Regions from separate parts of the Homo sapiens genome. Here all the other regions are linked to region 7. The links are contacts of gene promoters, found by promoter capture Hi-C in blood cells and fetal thymus (Javierre and others, 2016). All regions are on one chromosome and are shown on one strand. The core of a region is centred on a gene start or on the middle of the fragment in contact, and the rest is flanking DNA. Distances in the headings are between cores, read along the strand shown.

Region 1 (2,861 bases), core at 286-2,785, 830 kb before region 7:
TATAACAACTAGTCCTTGGAGGGTTTGATGATACCCTCAGTCAGCATTTTCATCACTAGTGAAAGTTTCTCCTCATAACAATCCTGCTCAAGCTCTCCAAGGTCTATGGCAAAAAATAAAAATAAAAAATAAAAAGCATTATGTTGCTTCAAGGTCATCTTACAATGACTGCAGTTGTGTGGGATGAGTATGCCATATGAGGAAGAATCTCCAGGCCGAAGTGGTACAGTCCAGACACAGCCTTTAGAGCTAAGAGGCCATTTCTTTTAGCCTCAAAAATCACTCAAATATACCCCTGCAAAAACTTTATAATTTCTCCCTTTGATGGAATGGCAAGTAACATTGAGCTTTTTTCTTTCTTTTCTATTGCTACCTTTTAATTTTACCTCCTACTCTGATCTGGATCTGCAAGCAATGGGTTCCTAAATGTCAACTCTGGAGATAATAAACACATAGCAGAGACTGATATTTTCCCACCAATTATTTATTCTTTCAATCCTAAAAAATACAGACACTTAACAGTGTTCTATTTACAATGTGCGCATCCAGGCAAAAATTTCCGGACAGGCTAAAAAGCAAGAAAATGCGATCCACAATCAGGAGAAAAATGAATCAACAGAAACTGATTCAGAAACAAACAAGATGCAGATGCTGCTCACAGAAGTCTAGAACGCCAAGGTGAAGCCCCCACTGGGTTGGACATTTTCTTATTCCTTATGTCATTTAAAGCACAACTCCCGAGATTTTACGTGATATAACCGCTAGAGGCCTCTCTGTCACAGGCTGTATTACTCCCAGGTCCCCATGTTGGCTGTGTTCAGATTTTTTGTTATATTTGTGGAAATCTGAGTGCATGTGACGACTGCTATTTATGGGTTTTGTTTTTATTTTTAAAGACAGGGTCTTGTTCTGTCCCCCAGGCTGGAGTACAGTGGTGTGATCACAGCTCATTGCAGTCTCGAACTCCTGGGTCCAAGCCATCCTCCCAACTCAGCCTCAGGACTTACAGGCGAGTACCACCTCACCAGGCTTGATTTTTGTGTTTTTAAACAGACTGAACATCTTTCAGTACTTCCCATCCCCACCCCTCCCGGCCCTGACTCCGCCACCCCAACCCCGCCCCACTTTGTACTACCCAAGCACATCTTGGGAACATGATGCGGAAAGTCAGGGACGCTGGAGGTGAAGGACTGATGACGCGCTACGGTGGTCCTAGGTGCGCGTGCCCCCTCTCTGGAGTAGTCCCGGGGGTCACGAGGATTTGAAGACAGGCCCTCCCTTCCCACTGCCCCCATTCCCCCGAATGCCAAGCCCCTGTGGGCAGGCGCCCTGGGCAGGTGTGGTTGGTTGCTAAAGCCTGCTGGGCCCAGACATGAACCCTGCCCTAGCTGGGCAGCGGCGCGGGAGCAAAGTTGTTCTGAGGCTGCCCTCCCCGGGGCCTGCTCTCCCAGCCCTGGAGGAGCCGGCGCGAGACGCGCGGGGGCGGGGCCGCGCGGGGGGGCGGGGCTCACCAAGGCTCCACCCCGCCGCGGCCACTGTTCGCACACACCTGGTGCTGATCAACGCCGAGGCCGACTCGTCGCCACCCAGCGCGCCGCAGGCCGGGGCGGAGAGGCGCAGGGCGCTGGGCAGTCTCCGGCGAGGGCAAGGAGCGGTGCCCGGCTGGGCCGGCTATGTCTCCCGCTACTGCGGTTCCCGCCGGCGCCCGCGACCTCGGGGGAGCAGCCGGGTTCGGGGGCGCCGCGCTGTGAGGCCGGGGCCTAGAGCCAGCCGCGGCCGCGCAGGAGGGGCCCAGGGCCCGCGCTCGCCCGCGTCCCCGCCTTCCTCCCGCGCTCAGCCCCGCCTCGGCTCGCTGCCCTTGGCTCTCGTCGCCATGGCCTCCGTCGCCCAGGAGAGCGCGGGCTCGCAGCGCCGGCTACCGCCGCGTCACGGGGCGCTGCGCGGGCTGCTACTGCTCTGCCTGTGGCTGCCAAGCGGCCGTGCGGCCTTGCCGCCCGCGGCGCCGCTGTCCGAACTGCACGCGCAGCTGTCGGGCGTGGAGCAGCTGCTGGAGGAGTTCCGCCGGCAACTGCAGCAGGAGCGGCCTCAGGAGGAGCTGGAGCTGGAGCTGCGCGCGGGCGGCGGCCCCCAGGAGGACTGCCCGGGCCCGGGCAGCGGCGGCTACAGCGCAATGCCTGACGCCATCATCCGCACCAAGGACTCCCTGGCGGCGGGTGCCAGCTTCCTGCGGGCGCCGGCGGCCGTGCGGGGCTGGCGGCAATGCGTGGCGGCCTGCTGCTCCGAGCCGCGCTGCTCCGTGGCCGTGGTGGAGCTGCCCCGGCGCCCCGCGCCCCCGGCAGCCGTGCTCGGCTGCTACCTCTTCAACTGCACGGCGCGCGGCCGCAACGTCTGCAAGTTCGCGCTGCACAGCGGCTACAGCAGCTACAGCCTCAGCCGCGCGCCGGACGGCGCCGCCCTGGCCACCGCGCGCGCCTCGCCCCGGCAGGGTAAGCGCGCGACTGAGGGGCCGGCCTTGGCCAGAGCGCTCGAGACCCGCAGCGCCCTCGCCAAGTTGGAAGCGAAACACACTCGTGCCAAGTTATTTTAGCCGCGGGCACCCAGAAGAGTTTCTGGCATGGGTTTCTCTGTCTTAGGGAAGAGGAAGCCCAGTAGTTTGGCAGAAGCGGGCGGGCGGGCGCGGTGACGTGCTACTGGAATTTTTCTAGGCTTGAAGAGAAAGGCTGATCTGAGAGGATTCGTGGAAATATGACTTAAAAGGGGAGAAATGCTGAGAGAAAAAAGTTTGTTTTAGTCTCATGGGTTGTATAAGGCATGGTTTGTGTTAAGTAATTGCAAGAGCAAAATCTAATTAGATGCCGGGC
Region 2 (2,957 bases), core at 45-2,544, 790 kb before region 7:
GAAACCAGTTTGCATCCCAGCCCTGTGACCCACTTACTTGTGTGAACCTAGGTACGAACCTGACCCTGAGCCTAACCAGAAAGAAAATTGAGCTATTTATACCTGCCATCCAGAGTTGTGAGAAAGAGAAAGAGCATGTCTAAATGCCTTATATATGCCCATTGTTTATTCTTCAAAGAAAAACCTTTCTGGTTTCTGCTTTTCATGGCGTGATATCCGGAGACTCCCTGTGACTCTTCTAGCCTGAGATCTCCCTTCTCCAAGAGGCGTGGTGGTAGTTCGGTGCAGGGTGTGTCTTCCGCTCTCTCTGTCGGTGGTTTCGTATTAGCTGCGTACTTTGCTTTATTCAGTGGGTCACCTTAGTTATTTACTGCTTAACTATCAAACATAGGCCTTTGTTTAGTAGAGAAATAAACAGTTCTTCTCTAAGTCCATCTTAAAAAAAAATAAGGCTGTATTTTCACATTTGTTTCCTGAAGTTTCTGATGCATACACCTTCAATATATGTTCTCTTTCTTTTCTGCAGATAGTAGTTCCTCAGGGAAGAACAGAAAAGAGGAAAGTTATATATTTGAGTCAAAGGGTGATGGAGGAGGAGGGGAACACCCAGCCCCAGAAACAGGTAAATGTCCACCTTGGAAACCCTTTGCAGACTGTAGTCTTCTCAGAACTGCATGCCCTCTGGCTGAGGATATTCCCTGAGGCCATGAGAGCTCAGGACAGGAGGAGTCCGTCAGTGGACCGAAAGAACTGTCTCCTCGTTGCTTGTATTGCACTGCGTCTTGGGGCTCCTGATAGTAACCTTCCATCTTTGGACCTCAGCTGCCTTTTCTATACACCCTTCCAGGTGTGACACCTGTGGAAAATGTCATACTTGTGGCATGGTGGGAGAACACAAGCTTTAGAGTCAGATGCCACAATTCAAATCCTTGCTCAAAGCTGGGCACAGTGGCTCACGCCTGTAATCCCAGCACTTTGGGAGGCCAAGGCAGGAGGATCGCTTGAGCTCAGGAGTTCAAGACCGGCCTGGGCAATATGGCAAAATCCTGTCTCTACAAAAAATACAAAAATTAGCCAAGTGTGGTGACATTCGCCTGTAGTCCCAGGGAGGCTGAGGTGGGAGGATCACTTGAGCCTGGGAGGTCGAGGCTGCAGTGAGATAAGATTGTGCCACTGCACTCCAGCCTGGGTGACAGAGTGAGACCGTCTCAAAAAAAAAAAAAAAAAATTCTCACTTACCCACTAAACTGTATGACCTTGAGCAGGCTATCTTATCTCTCTGGATCTCAGTTTCCTCATTCGTAAGATGAGGATAGTAACAATACCTGCCTCATAGGGTTGCTGAGAAGAATATATGGGATAATTAATCTCAAGCATTGAATGCACTGTGTGGCTCATATGATGAGCCAAATATAGAAACGATGGCAGTTATTACTCAGTTATTTACGATGAAAGAAGAGTAAAGGTCTTAGAATACCTAGTTCTCTTTCCAAGTGCCCTAGTGACAAAGACAGAAAACAACAGAAATGAGGGAAGGGTGTAGGAAGTAGAATATTTACTAAGTGGAAGAAGAATACAATAATTTCTTTAATTTTGGTTGATTTTAACTAGGAAGAAAAGACTTTGGAAACCATCCTTTAGAAAGGCAGGCTTTAGTCTTAAATCCCACAAACTAGTAAAAGAAGCTTTAGAAGAACAAAATATAAGCTTAAGTTATAAACATTGAGAAAACTTTCTTTTTACCCTATTTATAATATCAGGACAATATTAAAATATAATGTTTAAACAATAGATAGCTAAGAATACTCCAGATGTCAAGTACCTGGGTGACCCCCTTGGTCTGCTGGCCTCCTGGACTTAGCCTGTCCCAAGATATTTGAATAAAAGGGGCCCTGTCCCCTATCAAGGGAAGAGGGAAACCAGCCTGCCTCTTGCCTCCCCACACATATGTATCCAGAGAGTCTCAGCTCTAGTTGGCTGTTGCCTATTCTGGTTGTTACATATTTTTGTTTTGTTTTGTTTTTGAGACATCGAGTCTCACTCTGTTGTCCAGGTTGGAGTACAGCGGCGCGATCTCAGCTCACTGCAGCCTCTGCTTCCCGGGTTCAAACGATTCCCCTGCCTCAGCCTCCCTAGTAGCTGGGATTACAGGTGCATGCCACCACACCTGGCTAATTTTTGTATTTTTAGCAGAGATGGGGTTTTGCCATGTTGGCCAGGCTGGTCTCAAAACTTCTGACCTCAAGTGATCCTCCTGCCTCAGCCTCCCACCATGCTGGGATTACAGGTGTGAACCACTGTGCCCAGCCTGTTACATATTTTAAATGTCACCCCCATTCATATGAACAGAATACATAATTCATCACCCTAGCTGGTTACTGAGAATAGCATCATGGTGTGTTTTAGAAGGAGCTAGAAAGTTGTAAATCTCAAATTATCCAAACTAAGCCAACTAAATATTAAAAGTCAAGAATAATTTTCAATATTCTGGCAAGTACTTTTGGGAGATTTCATTTTCCTTGTCATAAAAGCATTAAACAGGAATCAGATCAGACAGTTCAGCAGCCTCATATCTGACTTAGCAAATAGAACATTTTCCCAGATCTCGTCTGTTTTATTGTTACCATAGCTAAACCTGAGCCCCGGCATTGGGATTGGCATCTTCAACCACAGCTTCATAACCCTTTAGCCTAAATGCTGATGCTCATCTTTAAGCAAGTCCCCCGGACTGGGGCTGGGTGTTGCGGTCCAATTCATGAGAAATGATTTGGGGTTCCTGGGGTTTTCTGTGGGTATTGACCAAAGTCTCTTTTTTTGTCCTGTTCCTTTGTAACATATGCAACTTATAGGAAGGTGGAGGGAGAATGACACCTTGGGGCCACTTAGCCTTGTCAGAACTTCTTTCATCAGGTGGAGACTAGGAGGCAGTAGTAGCTACTGAAGCCCCAAACTGCTGG
Region 3 (2,717 bases), core at 132-2,631, 680 kb before region 7:
TGTAGCTCAATGAATGCCTCAGATGACTTGATTTATCCCCATTCTGACTTCTCTGTCAATTTCTAAGGGAACAAAATTTAATGTTTGTCAACTCATATGTTAATACGGCTTTTAAAACATGTATCATCCTCCAGAAGTTATTCATAAATCTAGTGAACAATAAGTATAATCTCATGCACAGAAGTAATATTGTATAACTCCAGTTTTGGAAATGGATTTGAATGTTAGCGATCATGAAACTTGTTTGAACTTTATGAATTATTTATTGAAGGTTAATAAATTTATCAGTTTATCAGTTTATCAGAAGTTTCTGATAAACTTAATTTTTTATCAAATTTCCTCCATGAGGAAGAAAAGGTAGGACATTATAATTGGAGTGAATGTTCTGTGCTACGAAAACAAAGCTTATTATCTCTGACGGTAAAATGGGGTAGTTGATTCCTTAAGGCAGTGGAGGAATTTGATTGAACAGTAAAAGAAGTAGCATTGTGTTAGTCCAATTGGCTGCTACTGCAAGAAACTAGATCATGGTCCATGCTTGGAATGGCACATTCTATGCCTAAATATTGATGGAATATGCCTTGCTGCTCACCAAAAAATACTTCTACTACATTTTTAATGTATAATATCTGGCTTTCATTGTGTAGGTCGTTTTTATTTTTGTTTTGTTTTTATTGCAAGTCCTTGTTCTATATAAATAGTGTTGGAACTGTTCTAACCCTGGTTATTTGGTTATTTTAGATGTTTTATTTACATCAATGGGAGATTGTTATACATCACAAAAGTTATTTAGTCATTGAATAACATTTTCGCTAAGTAGGAACAGCAATCATTTTTCAGCATGAAGATACAGCGTTGCTTTCACTTTTGATCTGACAATTATTAGAAAGTGAACTGAAGAAAATGTCAGTATGCAGTTTCCTTTAAAGATGGGAACTCGCTATGTTGCCTGCGCTGGATTCCAACTCCTGGACTCGAGCAATCCTCCCACCACAGCCTCTCAAGTAGCTGGGACTACAGGTGCACTACTGCACCCAGCCAGGGTACCTTTCTGATAAACTTAATTCAACCCAAATTAACACTTTGAAATCTTATGTAATGGTATCATTTTTTTTTTCCTAAGTTGGACAAACTAATCAATGATACTTGTTTGTTGATGTTTGTATTTTTGATGAGGGTCTGAACTTTAAAAAAAAAAAAATGGCGATCTGTCATACCCAGGCAGTTTGATTCCAGAGCTCTTACTTTAACCATGAGATTAAAGTCATTGAAAGTTATGGGGTAGGTAGGTGACATGATCAGAATTGTTTATTAAGACGAATCTGGCCCCATCGTAGTGTGGGTTAAAAAGGTAAGCAGTTTTGCTTTGAAGAATTATTTTAAAAATTCTTTTTGCCTAGTAATAATTTGAATTTTCACATGTCATAGCAGCAAAGATTGTTGAGATTTAGTAATGCCAGTATTAACCATACCTTGTTGTGGGGATTATAAAATTAGTATAACTTTCTAGAAGGCATTCTGACAATAAGTATCAGAATTTTAAATATGTATTCTCTTTGATCCAGCAATTCCACTTCTGGGAATTTATTTTAAGAAAAATGCTCAGCAATGTGTGCACAAGAATTTTTATTGCAGCAATTTTTTTATTAACTAATTTCGTTATGTGCAAGGAATATGCTATATGTATATTATACATATGTTCATTTTATTAAACTATGAGGCATAATAAAATGAACATCCATGAACTTACCACCTGAACTCAGAACAAGAATATTACCAGTATAATTGAAGTTACCAGTTTGCAGTATTATTTTACATTAGCAAAAAAATGAGGAACAACCTAAATGTCCATCAGTCAGGGATTTATAAGTAATAGTACATCTAGCCGGGCGCAGTGGCTCACGCCTGTAACCAGCACTTTGGGAGGCCAAGGAGGGCGGATTACCTGAGGTCTGGAGTTCGAGACCAGCCTGGCCAACATGGTGAAACCCCATCTCTACTAAAAATACAAAAATTAGCTCGGTGTGGTAGCGCGGGTCTGTAGTCCCAGCTACTTGTAAGGCTGAGGCAGGAGAATCACTTGAACCCGAGAGACGGAGGTTGCAGTGAGCTGAGATGGCACCACGGCACTCCAGCCTGCGACAGTGAGACTCTGTCTCAAAAATAAATAAAGAAATAAAGAAATAATAAATAAATAAATAAAAAATAGTACATCTACATGATGAAATTCAATATCGGTATTTAAAGGAATAAGGTTGAACTATCATACTTTATCAATTCTGAAATACCACTAAATCTAAGATAAGCCATCTATTTAGTAGCAATTTTTTAGCAGGAAGAAAGTAAACATAAAGCTTTTATTAATAATAGCATACATTTATTCATTCAATTGTATACCATTTTCGTCTGTCACAATAAAGTTTGAGTCTCAGCCTTATTCACATTCAGAATCTAGGATCCTTCTGAATTACTTCGGTTAGTTAATGCAACATCATGATAACAGGCTGCTTTTCATAATGCTAGTTAATTATCTTAACCTATATTGTCTTTATGATTGTGTGTATAATTTTAAGGTATATTGAAGAATACTGGGGTTTTGCTTGCCTTTCATTTTTGCTTACTTAGTTTTTTTTTCTTCTTCTTAATTGAATTACCTATTGCTGGAAATTAAACAGCTTCTTCTGAAGATAACTCCAAAAGTTTTGGCAGACTTTTGA
Region 4 (2,986 bases), core at 293-2,792, 660 kb before region 7:
GTACTTTCTGATGCCTGCTGTTTTCTCTGAAATAGAAAACCAAGTCATTTTCTAAGAGTGATGAGTGAGGACTAGAGCAGGCAGTTTGAGGAGACTGAGGACTGGCAATAGTGGAGACTATAGAAAGAGTTTCCTGGTGGTGCTGAGGCCATTGAAGGATGCTGATCTTGAATTATAGTAAAATCAGTCTGCCCACTGCATCACTTTTTCTTTTAAGTTAAAAACAACAACAAAAAAAGATAGCTGGAATTATCCCTGACTGGAGTTTCACTAAACAAGTACAAAATAAGATCGATAATATTGCTAAAAGGGTAATTTTTTTTTTTTTTTTGAGACAGGCATGAGCCACCGTGCCCAGCCTGAAAGGATAATTTAAATCCTTAATCAGAGCGTACTCCTCCTCTACCTTTATCGGCTTCTTATTCTTCCAAATTCCTTGTCCATGGCCTGGCTACCTCTTAGATCCCATCCAATACCACTTTCCCCCTTCATTTACTGTTCTACAGCCGTACTGGGTTTATTTTGTTCTTGGAAAATACCAAGCTCCCACCTCAGGACCTTTATGCAGTCTTTTTTTTTTTTGAGACAAAGTTTTGCTCTGTCGCCCAGACTGGAGTGCAGTGGCGCTATCTCAGCTCACTGCAACCTCCGCCCCCTGAGTTCCAGTGATTCTTCTGCCTCAGCCTCCCAGGTAGCTGGGATTACAGGCATGTGCCACCATACCCAGCTAATTTTTGTATTTTTAGTAGAGACAGGGTTTCACCATGTTGGCCAGGCTGGTCTTGAACTCCTGACCTCAGGTGATCCGCCCACCTCGGCCTCCTAAAGTGCTAGGATTACAGGCTTGAGCCACCGCGCCTGGCCTGTGCTGTCTGAACTCATATATTATCCCTCAGAGGAGCCCTTATCCCTTTCTAGCCTCCTGTTACTCTCTATCATTTGATGCCATTTATGTTTCATTCACAGAGCATTTATCATACCCTGAAGTTACCTCATTTATTTATTCACCTGCTTTGTGTCTGGCTTCTCCTTCGAGAATGTAGGTTCATGGGCCACGGATGTTCTGTTGTTTACCAATGTCATTGGATTGCTTAGAGCAGTGCCTGGCATATAGTTGATGCACAATAAATATTTAATGAACGGCCCGGGTGCAGTGGCTCACGCCTGTAATCCCAGCACTTTGGGAGGCCGAGGTGGGCGGGTCACGACGTCAGGAATTCAAGACCAGCCTGGCCAGCATAGTGAAACCCCATCTCTACTAAAAATACAAAAAATTAGCCAGGCGTGGTGGTGGGCGCCTGTAATCCCAGCTACTTGGGAGGCTGAGGCAGGAGAATCATTTAAACCCGGGAGGCAGAGGTTGCGGTGAGCTGAGATTGCGCCATTGCATTCCAGCCTAGGTGACAAAGCGAAGACTCCATGTCAAAAAACAAACAAACAAACAAAAAACCCAAATATTTAATGAATGAATAAAAAGGAGGTGATCTCAGAGAAAAAGAATAGAGAGGGAAGAACAAAGTGATAGACCATGGATTTAAGTTGGATAAAATGTGTCATAAAGAAAGAGGAAGGCCAGGCTAGGCAAGGTGGCTCATGCCTGGAATCCCAGCACTTTGGGAGGCCAAGACGGGCAGATCATGAGGTCAGGAGATCGAGACCATCCTGGCTAACACGGTGAAACCCTGTCTCTACTAAAAATACAAAAACCTTAGCTGGGCGTGGTGGTGGGCGCCTGTAGTCCTAGCTACTCAGGAGGCTGAGGCAGGAGAATGGCGTGAACCCGGGAGGCGGAGCTTGCAGTGAGCCGAGATCGCACCACTGCACTCCCAGCCTGGGCGACAGAGCGAGACTCCGCCTCAAAAAAAAAAAAAAAAAAGAGGAGGGTCAAGTACGGTGGCTCACGCCTGTAATCCCAGCACTTTGGAGGCCAAGGTGGGAGGATTGCTTGAAGCCAGGAGTTCGAGACCAGCCTGGGTATATTAGGGAGACCCCGTCTCTACAAAAAGTTTTAAAAATAGGCTAGGCTTAGTGTCTCCTGCCTATAATCCTAGCATTTTGGGAGGCTGAGGAAGGAGGATCACTTGAGCCCAGGAGTTTGAGACCAGCCTGGACAACTTAGATACCATCTCTACAATAATAAATAAATAAAATAATTAGCTGGGCATGGTGATGCATGCCTGTAATCCCAACTACTTGGAAGGCTGAGGTGGGAGGATTGCTTGAGCCCAGGGGTTCAAGGCTGCAGTGATTCATGATCATGCCACTGCCCTCCAGCCTGGGTGACATCAAGACTGTCTCAAAAGAATAAAAATAAGAAAAAGGAGGACTGATAAAGTAGGGGATTAACCTTGGAGATGTTGGCTGGATGCGGTAGCTCATGCCTGTAATCCCAACACTTTGGGATGCTGAGGTGGGCGGATCACCTGAGGTCAGGAGTTCAAGACCAGCCTGACCAACATGGTGAAACCCCATTTCTACTGAAAATACAAAAATTAGCTGGGTGTGGTGGCACCTGCCTGTAATCCCAGCTACACAGGGGGCTGAGGCAGGAGAATCGCCTAAACCCAGGAGGCAGAGGTTTCGCTGAGCCGAGATCATGCCACCGCGCTCCAGCCTGGGCGACAGAGCAAGTCTCTGTCTCAAAAAAAAAAAAATAAAAATCTTGGAGATCTTGGTGAGGTTGCTACTTAATAAAGTTTAAAAACTTTTGCAGTAGGAGTAAACAGAAGAAGTAGTTGTGGTCTGGGAGTATAAGCGTATAAACCTTAAAGTAGTTATTCTGAAACAAGAGCAGATATGAGTAATACCAAAGTTTGAAATACAATCATGAGAATGATACTTGATGTGGAGTGGAAGAGGGGACGTCAAGAAGCTGAGATATGAGGGCAATAGATGGTTTATCCTCGTGGTTATTGAGGTTACAGGATGAAGGCAGGGCTTAGGGTAGACTGAATGCTGAAGCTGTGGCTGAATGAAATAGAGCAAA
Region 5 (2,905 bases), core at 76-2,575, 580 kb before region 7:
GGCTCCTGTGAACTGCCTGCAGACTACTCCAGGAGCACGTGTACAGTTGCCTACTAAGGGCCTACGGGCTGAGTTGTTTATTCCATTTTGTGCTGCTATCACAGAATACCACAGACTGGGTAATCTATAAAGAACAGGATTTTTTTCCCTCACAGTTCTGGAGGTTAGGAAGTCCAAGATCAGGGTGCTGGCATGTTCAGTTGTTTGGTGAGGGCTGCATCCTCTGGAGTAGAGGAACACTTTGTTCTCACATGGCTGAAGGAATAAGAGCAGGAAATCCAAATGCTGTGTGATACCTCTTTGTAAGGGCCTTAATCCCATTCATGAGGAAGGAACCCTTGTGGCATAATCCCCTCTCAAAGGCCCAACTTTTAATACTAGCACATTAGCTACTGAGTTTCAACACCTTGCTTTTGGAGGGACACATTAAAACCATAGCAGTAGCTGGGCTGAAATTAACCAGAATTAACCATAATTTGTCATTTACTATCCAGGTTTCCCCCTGGAAGTTGCAGTCCTCCCAATAGACTCCAGAGTTCCTAAATAGTTGCATCAAACAGATTCTGCAGGTGCAGTTTTTGTTTAGGTGGAAATACAGATTCTTGATGCTTCCTACTCTGTCAGTCTTCCACGATCCTGTCCCAATAATTGATTTTTATATGTTTATCTTCTATCTTGTCAGCTTAATACTATGCTAGAATTGTTCATTCTAGGAGAATTTTTGTAGATTCCTTAGTATTTTCTGTGTGGACAATTATGTTATCTGCAAATATTTCTGTATTTTTGGATTTCTATGCCTTTTATTTCCTCTTCTTACCTTATTGCATTGGCTAGAACTTCCAGTACTATGTCAAATATTTAAGAGTGACAAAGTAGATGTCCTTGCTGTGTTCCTGTTCCTGATTTTAGGAGGAAAGAATTCAATGTTTCATCACAGAGAGTATAATGTTAGCTGTAGGTGAGGTGTTTTTGTAGATGTTCTTTTTTTTTTTTTTTTTTTTTTTTTTTTTTTTTTTTTTGAGACAGAGTCTCGCTCTGTTGCCCAGGCTGGAGTGCAGTGGCGTGATCCCCACTCACTGCAAGCTCCGCCTCCCGGGTTCACGCCATTCTCCTGCCTCAGCCTCCCGAGTAGCTGGGACTACAGGCGCCCGCCACCACACCCAGCTAATTTTTTGTATTTTTAGTAGAGATGAGGTTTCACCGTGTTAGCCAGGATGGTTTTGTGGATACTCTTTATCAGGTTGAGGATATTCCCTTTAAATTCTATTTTTCTGAGAGCTTCTGTCCTGGATAGGTATTCAGTTTTAGCACATGCTTTTCTGCGTTTGTTGCATGATCACATGGGTCTTTTTCTTTAGTCTCTTAATATAGTGGATTATATTGATTAATTTTTGAACATTGAACTAGTCTTATGTCCCTGGAATAATTCTCACTTGGTCATGGTATGTAATTCTTTTTATATCTTGCTGAATTCTATTTGGTAATATTTTGTTAACAATTTTTGCATCTGTATATTCATGAATGATACTGGTCTATAGTTTTTCCTTTGTTTTGTTTTTTGGAACTGTCTTCATCTGATTTCAGTATCAGGGTAATATAGCCTTTTATAAAATGAATTGAGAAATTTTCCTTCTGTGCTCTGGAAGAGTTTGTGTAGAATTGATTTAATTCTTTTTTAAAAATTTTTTTTGAGACAGGGTCTCACTCTGTCACCCAGGCTGGAGTGCAGTGGCGCGATCTTGGCTCACTGCAACCTCCGCCTCCTGGGTTCAATAGATTCTCGTGCTTCAGCTTCACGAGTAGCTGGGGTTACAGATGCGTGCCACCACGCCTGGCTAATTTTTTTGTATTTTAGTAGAGACAGAGTTTCACCATGTTGGTCAGGCTGATCTTGAACTCCTGACCTCAGGTGATCCACCTGCCTCGGCCTCCCAAAGTGCTGGGATTATAGGGGTGAGCCACCACGCCGGGCCTTAATTCTTTTTTAAATGTTTCTACAATGAAACTACCTGGGCTTGAATATTTCTTTAAAACTATGAATCACCTTCATTAATAGTTATGGTACTGTTCAGATTATCTTCTTTTATTAGGTGAGTTGTGGTAGTTTGTGATTTTCAAAGAATTAGTCCATTTAATCCAAGTTGTCAAATTTATGTATGTAGCATTTTTGTAGGATTCCTTATGCTTTTTTTATTTTTTGAGATGGAGTCTCGCTTTGTCGCCCAGGCTGGAGTGCAGTGGCATGATCTTGGCTCACTGCAAGCTCCGCCTCCTGGGTTCACACCATTCTCCTGCCTCAGCCTCCCTGAGTAGCTGGGACTACAGGCGCCCGCCACCACACCCGGCTAATTTTTTGTATTTTTAGCAGTGACGGGGTTTCACCATGTTAGCCAGGATGGTCTCGATCTCCTGACCTCGTGATCCACCCACCTTGACCTCCCAAAGTGCTGGGATTACAGGCATAAGCCACCATGCCTGGCCATATTCCTTATTCTTTAAGTGCTTGCAGGTCTATAATGATAGCTCCTTTTTCATTCCTTATACCAGTAATACGTGTTCTCTGTCCTTTTTGCATTGTCAGTATTGCTAGAGGTTTGTCAATTTTTAATCTTTTTAAAAGACTCCTTTGTTTCATTGAATTTTCTCTATAGTTATTCTGTTTTTAACTTTATTGCTTTTTGCTCTTATCAATATCTTTTTTTTTCTTTTTTCTTTTTTCTTTTTTTTTTTTTTTTTGAGACAGAGTTTTGCTCTTGTTGCCCAGGCTGGAGTACGATGGCGCCATCTCAGCTCACTGCAACCTCCACCTCCCAGGTTCAAGTGATTCTCCTGCCTCAGCCTCCTGAGTAGCTGAGATTACAGGCCCCCGCCACCACTCTCAGCTAATTTTTGTATTTTTAGTAGA
Region 6 (2,700 bases), core at 131-2,630, 630 kb before region 7:
TTTTCCTGTATAGTAACTATTTTGATTATATCATCAATGTTACCTGTTTCCTCTTTCAGAACAGTGCTGCATATACAGATTGTTATTGGCAAAGGAAAATCTGGCTATCTGGCAATATTTTACCTAAGCGCAGATTAATTGGTGAAAAAATTAACTCTTAAGATGGCCATTAATAATTAGGAAAGTTTACAGAGTGGTCTTAGTAGAAAATTCAAGTCCTCCTAATTTATTTAAGGTTCAATAATGCGTTCAACATGCCTGTTATGTATAACGCTTAGGTTCTAAGGAAGATTAAGGTTTCATACCAAAATACATGTAGCTTATCTTTTAGGAAGGGGAAAAAGGCTCCATTTTGACCATAGTAAAATTTGTGTTGTGTTTTATTTCCTTTTCTTAAGCTCCACTGATAAGGGATTGTTTTTATCAAAAGTTACTATTTGTAGATTGGAGGCATAATTTTAGTGATTTTCATACTTTTAGCTTTCTTCGCATAAAAGCTAATTGAAACCGTATATGTAGTAAAATTAAAGGCAGAGCTGTTGCAGTTGAATTGGAGAGTTAGGGCAAAGAACACTTATTAGCCCACACTTCCCACCTTTCTACAGGTGGTCCTTTCAGAGCTCAGCCTGAAAACCCACTACTGTGTTATCGTGCGTCTTTTGGGGTTAGTGGTTCTTTTGAGAATCTGAAGGAAGCTGTGGACTCTTCCTAGAAAAAAAAACCACACATACACATACAATGTTGCATGCAGTTTCAAGGGATTTTGGACATATTGAAACCTATCACAGGCTGTAGGTTATGGACCTCTGTGCCATGAGAAAATTGATACATTAAACTAAGAACTTTGTTTTTAACTTACCAATCACTACTCAGCACATCTTATATAAGCTGATAATTTGTGATGGAAAAGGTCTGTAGCATGTGATATAAGGTGACCTTATGAATGCCTCTCTTGCTGGTACATTAAGTTGTTTTAATATATCATTTGGAGGGGACTGAAATGTTAGGCTCATTACAAGCTTGATACAGAAATATTTCTGAAGGATTTCTAATCAGAATTGTAAAACAATGTGCTATCATGAAATCGCAGTCTTCACCTCATGGTTCATGGAACATTTGGTTAGTCCCATAAAATCCTATGCAAAACAAAGTAGTTCAAGAATTTTTAGGTGGGTAGTCACATTTATAAGGTATTCCTCTTACTCTTTGGGCTTTTTCAGTCTGATTTATTTAAATTTTCATTTAGTTGTTTTACTTTTGGACTAAGGTGCAATACAGTAGAAGATAACTTTGTTACATTTATGTTGTAGGAAAACTAAGGTGCTGTCTCCTCCCCCTTCCCTTCCCACAAAATCTGTATTCCCCCTATTGCTGAAATGTAACAGACACTACAAATTTTGTATTCTTTTTTTGTTTTTTGTTTTGAGACAGGGTCTCACTCTGTCACCCAGGCTGGAGGGCAGTGGCGCTTCACAGCTCACTGCATCCTCAACCTTGGGGGCTCACGCAGTCCTCCCGCCTCAGCCTCCCAAGTAGCTGGGCATGCGCCACCAAGCCCAGCTAATTTTTGTATCTTTAGTAGAGATGGGGTTTCGCCATGTTGCCCAGGTTGGTGTGGAATTCCTGGGCTCCAGTTATATGCCCACCTCAGCCTCCCAAAGTGCTGGGATTACAGACGTGACCCACCGCGCCTGGCGCAAATATGTATTCTTTTAAAATTTCCTCTGATACTATAAGCTTTTTGCATTTATCTGAAGCAGTATACATGCCTTTGGTATCAGCAATTTTAACAGTTTGGATATACTTATCAGCTATCTTATTCCAAAACTACATCTACTTCTTCCAGTATAGAATCTGGTGCTTCCTGACCAAAAAGATGAGAAAAACAATGTTAAAAATATAGATGCTTTCCATTGAAATGGAGTGAAAACATTGGTTCTATATGTTTTCTTTTAAAATAATTTTCTTATTAAAAACTTGCTGTCTTTATTATACTTACCCTTTTTATGCATATCAATAGTATTTATAAGATGTGTTCTATAATTATGTAATTGTAGATACTGTTATGCATTGTCCAGTGACATCATAAGGCAGGCCCTACTGCTGTATCTTTTCTACCTTCTTATTTGTAATAGAAACTATAGAATGTATGACTAAAAAGTCACTTTGAGATTGACTTTTTTAAAAAGTTATTACCTTCTGCTGTTGCAAAGTGCAAAACTGTGAGTGGAATTGTTTTATTCTGACTTAATGTGTTAGAAATTAGAGAATACAGTGGGAGGATTTTTAGACATTGCTGCTGCTGTTACCCAAGGTATTTTAGATAAAAAATTTTTAATAAACATCCCTTTGGTATTTAAAGTGGAACATTTAGCCTGTTCATTTTAATCTAAAGCAAAAAGTAATTTGGGTCAAAATATTGGTATATTTGTAAAGCGCCTTAATATATCCCTTTGTGGAAGGCACTACACAGTTTACTTTTATATTGTATTGTGTATATAAGTATTTTGTATTAAAATTGAATCAGTGGCAACATTAAAGTTTTATAAAATCATGCTTTGTTAGAAAAAGAATTACAGCTTTGCAATATAACTAATTGTTTCGCATAATTCTGAATGTAATAGATATGAATAATCAGCCTGTGTTTTTAATGAACTTATTTGTATTTTCCCAATCATTTTCTCTAGTGTAATGTTTGCT
Region 7 (2,814 bases), core at 199-2,698:
TCAAATGTGGGTATGACCATCTTAGGAAGATGGAGAGGAGCAAGGAAGTAGAAGTAAAGGTAATGGAATAAGAGAATGAGATCATGACCCCAGTAAATCAAGAAACAGCAGCCTGTGCATACTAGTTACAGATAGCGCGGTGATTATCCGAAGAAACATCTAGCTGCGCTGAAAGTGATTGGCTCTGCAACATCAGACTTCATCTTTGGGAGGGTTGGAATAGGAAACTGCTGGTTTTCATTATACATCTTATAGGACTATTTGATTTTTAATTATATACATGCATTACTTAATAGATATAGCAAAAAATGCAGGGAGGTAAAATCCTAGGAACACATGTTTTGAAAAACAGTTCTGGTAGAGTCTGGTTGACAATGCAGCAGAAGCATCTAGAAGCGTATGCTATGGTAAAGACGAGGGGCGGGGTGAGACCTTCAAGTCAAGTGAAACTACCCCACCTGACAAACAACCCTCTCTTCTTCTCATCAGTGTGGGATTATGTTGGATTTTTCTATGCGTTTGTAGGTAATGAAATGAACGTGCTTACTAGAACCCACAAGAAACCACACATAAAAATCCCCAGCAATGTTATATACACAGGTATATTTCTAGCTTTTTGCTGTATTCTTTCACAATTCTGTGCCATTTGCAAGATGTGAAAAGCTAGGACATTATGTATTGATAAAAATGTCTGAGACATGAAAAATATACAGACCAAGAAATATTTTTATTTGAAAAAGATTTAGCCAGACAAAAATAGAAGCTTCCATTATAAAATGTTGAGTCATGCAAAATGGGTAAGGATTGTACTTCGCCCCGGCAGGGGGTACATTTTATAAGCAAAGAATGTCAGAGAGCTAAGGCCACGAGCCAAGGGCCCAAAGACAGTTTTGAAATCCTTTGTCTAGTGCTCTTTCCACATCACCACATTAATTCCTGGGGTGGACAGGGACCTTGACAATTTAAGCATAAAAGAACAAACTGACCACAAGGTCGTTTTTATAAAGATCAACCATCAACCCCTGGGGTCAAGTTTCCAATCTTTGCTCAAGCTTTAGAAGCCTTTCAGCTTTGTGGCGTTATCAGGAAAGTCCAAAAATTGAAATTTGTGGTGACTAATTCCACCCCCTACAAATACTCAATGCAGAGCATATTACTGTCAGCTCAGCTAAAAACTGCTCAAAGTAGAAGTGATTAAATTCTAAAGTAGAAAAAAATTCACCTCCAAACACAGAAACACACTGGTACCTCCCCCGCACACCCAGATATTATTAGCCAGCTTTTTGCCTGGGGAAATGAATCATGAGACAGAAAACTGTACAACCCCCAAGTCTGACCACACTGAGTAACTGGGGTAGACACAGAGGGGGGCATCTGGGGCTCTCCCGAGGCCAAGGTTGGGACCCAGAAGAGATGAATTTCCCTGGGTGCACAGGGTGGGAGGGAGGTGGGGCTGGAAGAACTTGATCTGGAGGGATGATCCCGAAGGCTCCCAGTGAAGAAGGCCAGGAAGAGCAGAGGATGGTGCCAGGAGGATGATGTCGGGGGACACAGGCAGCTCATGCCTGGATCAGGCAGTGACTGGTAACAGAAGGAGAGTCCATGCTGGTGGGCCCAGGGGAACATAGGTGGTCAAGCAGGGCAGTACTTGGTGTCTGGGGATGCAGTGTGCGACCTCCTGTATTCGGTGCGAGGCACATGGGGCCAGCAGGAGCTGGTGTGAGCCCGGGTCTGAAGGGTGGTGGGATCTTAGTGGGGAAGACTGGGAAGACAGCAGGGAGGAAGAACTCAGGCTGGAGGAGGATGGGGGCCTGGGAGGATCCCTGCCACACTGTTAGGAAGCCAGGGAGCTTGGGTGGTGGTAGGATGGGAAGAGGGCAGGGAAACGGGGGGAGGGTGACACAGGCCCTCCGGCAGCAGCGGCTTGGCCACTGGCGCTGAGATTGGTATGAGTGACTCAGTGCCAGGTTGCGCCACAGAAAGCTGAGGCTGCGGATCCTTCTCCTGCCTCTGGTAGGGCCGTCTTAAAGGCAGGGTGAGTGAGCCTGGCTCCAAGAGGCTGGGTCCGCAGGCAGGGGCTGACGTGGGCTGGCCCAAGCCCCAGCTCTCCTCACTCTGAGTGCTTCTATGCTTTCTCACCTCCACGCTTCCAATCATGTTATTTTCCTCTTATTAAAATGCCTCCTTCCACGTCCACTTGGCAAACTCCTACGCACCCTTTAAGGCCGGGCACAAATGTCTCCACAGGGTTATGCGCCCCAGCCCTGTTAGTGACGGCCTTCCAGCTAGACAAGATTTTCATCTTTATACTGCCCTTCCCCAGGAAAGGGACATCACAGACACTCAGCTATTTATTTGCTGGAGGTGTTTGTTGAATTTTTCTGGTAGTTTCAGATTACACCTATTTAAATATTAGTTTTCAGAGAAGAGAAATATTTTTGTAAAGTTATTCCTAGAACATCAATGTCTGTGAAGGAAGTTCTATTTTCCTGTTAATCTTTCATAATAAAATTGGAAATGCTTTCTCCTGGAGGAGAGATGATCCCAACGCAAGAACAAATCAGTAAGCAAGAGTAAAACATGTTTTCCAATAAAACAAAGAGTAATAGTTGAAATAGGCCAAACGCACATATATTATGCTGCAATTTAAGCTTTCATAAAGTAAATTAAACAAGCCTAGAGGCTGAATTCTTGTGAATTGGTGATGTTTCTGTAAACTGAATGATGTTATCAGCCTGTGGTTATACAGTTCCCCTCAGAAAAATGTTCACTAAAAAAAATCACAAGTGTTTAGAAGTTAAAGGGGTTTACATT

Evidence for each region. Contacts are between HindIII fragments. The CHiCAGO score rates a contact against its expected background, and 5 or more counts as called.
Region 1: the fragment with the promoter of LRP11 here is called in contact with the fragment with the promoter of UST-AS2 in region 7 in 3 of 17 cell types (naive CD4 T cells, naive CD8 T cells and total CD8 T cells); the score reaches 6.7 in naive CD4 T cells.
Region 2: a fragment that was not itself captured here is called in contact with the fragment with the promoter of UST-AS2 in region 7 in 2 of 17 cell types (naive CD4 T cells and erythroblasts); the score reaches 6.0 in naive CD4 T cells.
Region 3: a contact is called between a fragment that was not itself captured here and the fragment with the promoter of UST-AS2 in region 7, in 3 of 17 cell types (non-activated CD4 T cells, activated CD4 T cells and naive CD4 T cells). The highest score is 7.6, in non-activated CD4 T cells.
Region 4: a contact is called between a fragment that was not itself captured here and the fragment with the promoter of UST-AS2 in region 7, in 5 of 17 cell types (total CD4 T cells, activated CD4 T cells, naive CD4 T cells and 2 more). The highest score is 8.2, in total CD4 T cells.
Region 5: a fragment that was not itself captured here is called in contact with the fragment with the promoter of UST-AS2 in region 7 in 2 of 17 cell types (naive CD4 T cells and naive CD8 T cells); the score reaches 5.1 in naive CD4 T cells.
Region 6: a contact is called between a fragment that was not itself captured here and the fragment with the promoter of UST-AS2 in region 7, in 1 of 17 cell types (activated CD4 T cells). The highest score is 5.5, in activated CD4 T cells.

Annotation. Positions count from the first base shown.
Region 1 is chr6:149,863,033-149,865,893 of GRCh38, reverse strand. It overlaps LRP11 (LDL receptor related protein 11), which reads left to right and starts at 1,535. Exons shown (of 7, transcript NM_032832.6): 1 at 1,535-2,486. The coding sequence starts at 1,874. It overlaps RAET1E-LRP11 (RAET1E-LRP11 readthrough), which reads left to right. Exons shown (of 15, transcript NR_182438.1): 8 at 550-678; 9 at 897-1,009. RAET1E-AS1 (RAET1E antisense RNA 1) reads right to left here and starts at 2,396. Exons shown (of 2, transcript NR_045126.1): 1 at 1,512-2,396. RefSeq lists an enhancer at 1,224-1,724 and silencers at 1,381-1,830, 1,901-1,960, 2,101-2,210, 2,381-2,530. The HindIII fragment of the contact is 13,305 bases long and covers 1-2,861 here.
Region 2 is chr6:149,823,929-149,826,885 of GRCh38, reverse strand. LRP11 (LDL receptor related protein 11) reads left to right here. Exons shown (of 7, transcript NM_032832.6): 6 at 527-622. It overlaps RAET1E-LRP11 (RAET1E-LRP11 readthrough), which reads left to right. Exons shown (of 15, transcript NR_182438.1): 14 at 527-622. Among named protein-coding and RNA genes, the nearest start is that of RAET1E-AS1, 38 kb to the left of the region's middle. The HindIII fragment of the contact is 786 bases long and covers 902-1,687 here.
Region 3 is chr6:149,714,533-149,717,249 of GRCh38, reverse strand. All of the region lies in intron 1 of LATS1 (large tumor suppressor kinase 1), which reads left to right. Among named protein-coding and RNA genes, the nearest start is that of LATS1, 2.2 kb to the left of the region's middle. The HindIII fragment of the contact is 1,950 bases long and covers 407-2,356 here.
Region 4 is chr6:149,686,764-149,689,749 of GRCh38, reverse strand. All of the region lies in intron 3 of LATS1 (large tumor suppressor kinase 1), which reads left to right. Among named protein-coding and RNA genes, the nearest start is that of LATS1, 30 kb to the left of the region's middle. The HindIII fragment of the contact is 3,336 bases long and covers 1-2,986 here.
Region 5 is chr6:149,611,294-149,614,198 of GRCh38, reverse strand. The region is part of intron 4 of KATNA1 (katanin catalytic subunit A1); the gene reads left to right. Among named protein-coding and RNA genes, the nearest start is that of KATNA1, 36 kb to the left of the region's middle. The HindIII fragment of the contact is 3,516 bases long and covers 1-2,905 here.
Region 6 is chr6:149,658,183-149,660,882 of GRCh38, reverse strand. LATS1 (large tumor suppressor kinase 1) reads left to right here. Exons shown (of 8, transcript NM_004690.4): 8 at 1-2,700. Among named protein-coding and RNA genes, the nearest start is that of KATNA1, 11 kb to the right of the region's middle. The HindIII fragment of the contact is 718 bases long and covers 1,022-1,739 here.
Region 7 is chr6:149,031,295-149,034,108 of GRCh38, reverse strand. UST-AS2 (UST antisense RNA 2) reads left to right here and starts at 1,448. Exons shown (of 2, transcript NR_134599.1): 1 at 1,448-1,584. The region is part of intron 7 of UST (uronyl 2-sulfotransferase); the gene reads right to left. RefSeq lists an enhancer at 855-1,044. The HindIII fragment of the contact is 1,599 bases long and covers 1,055-2,653 here.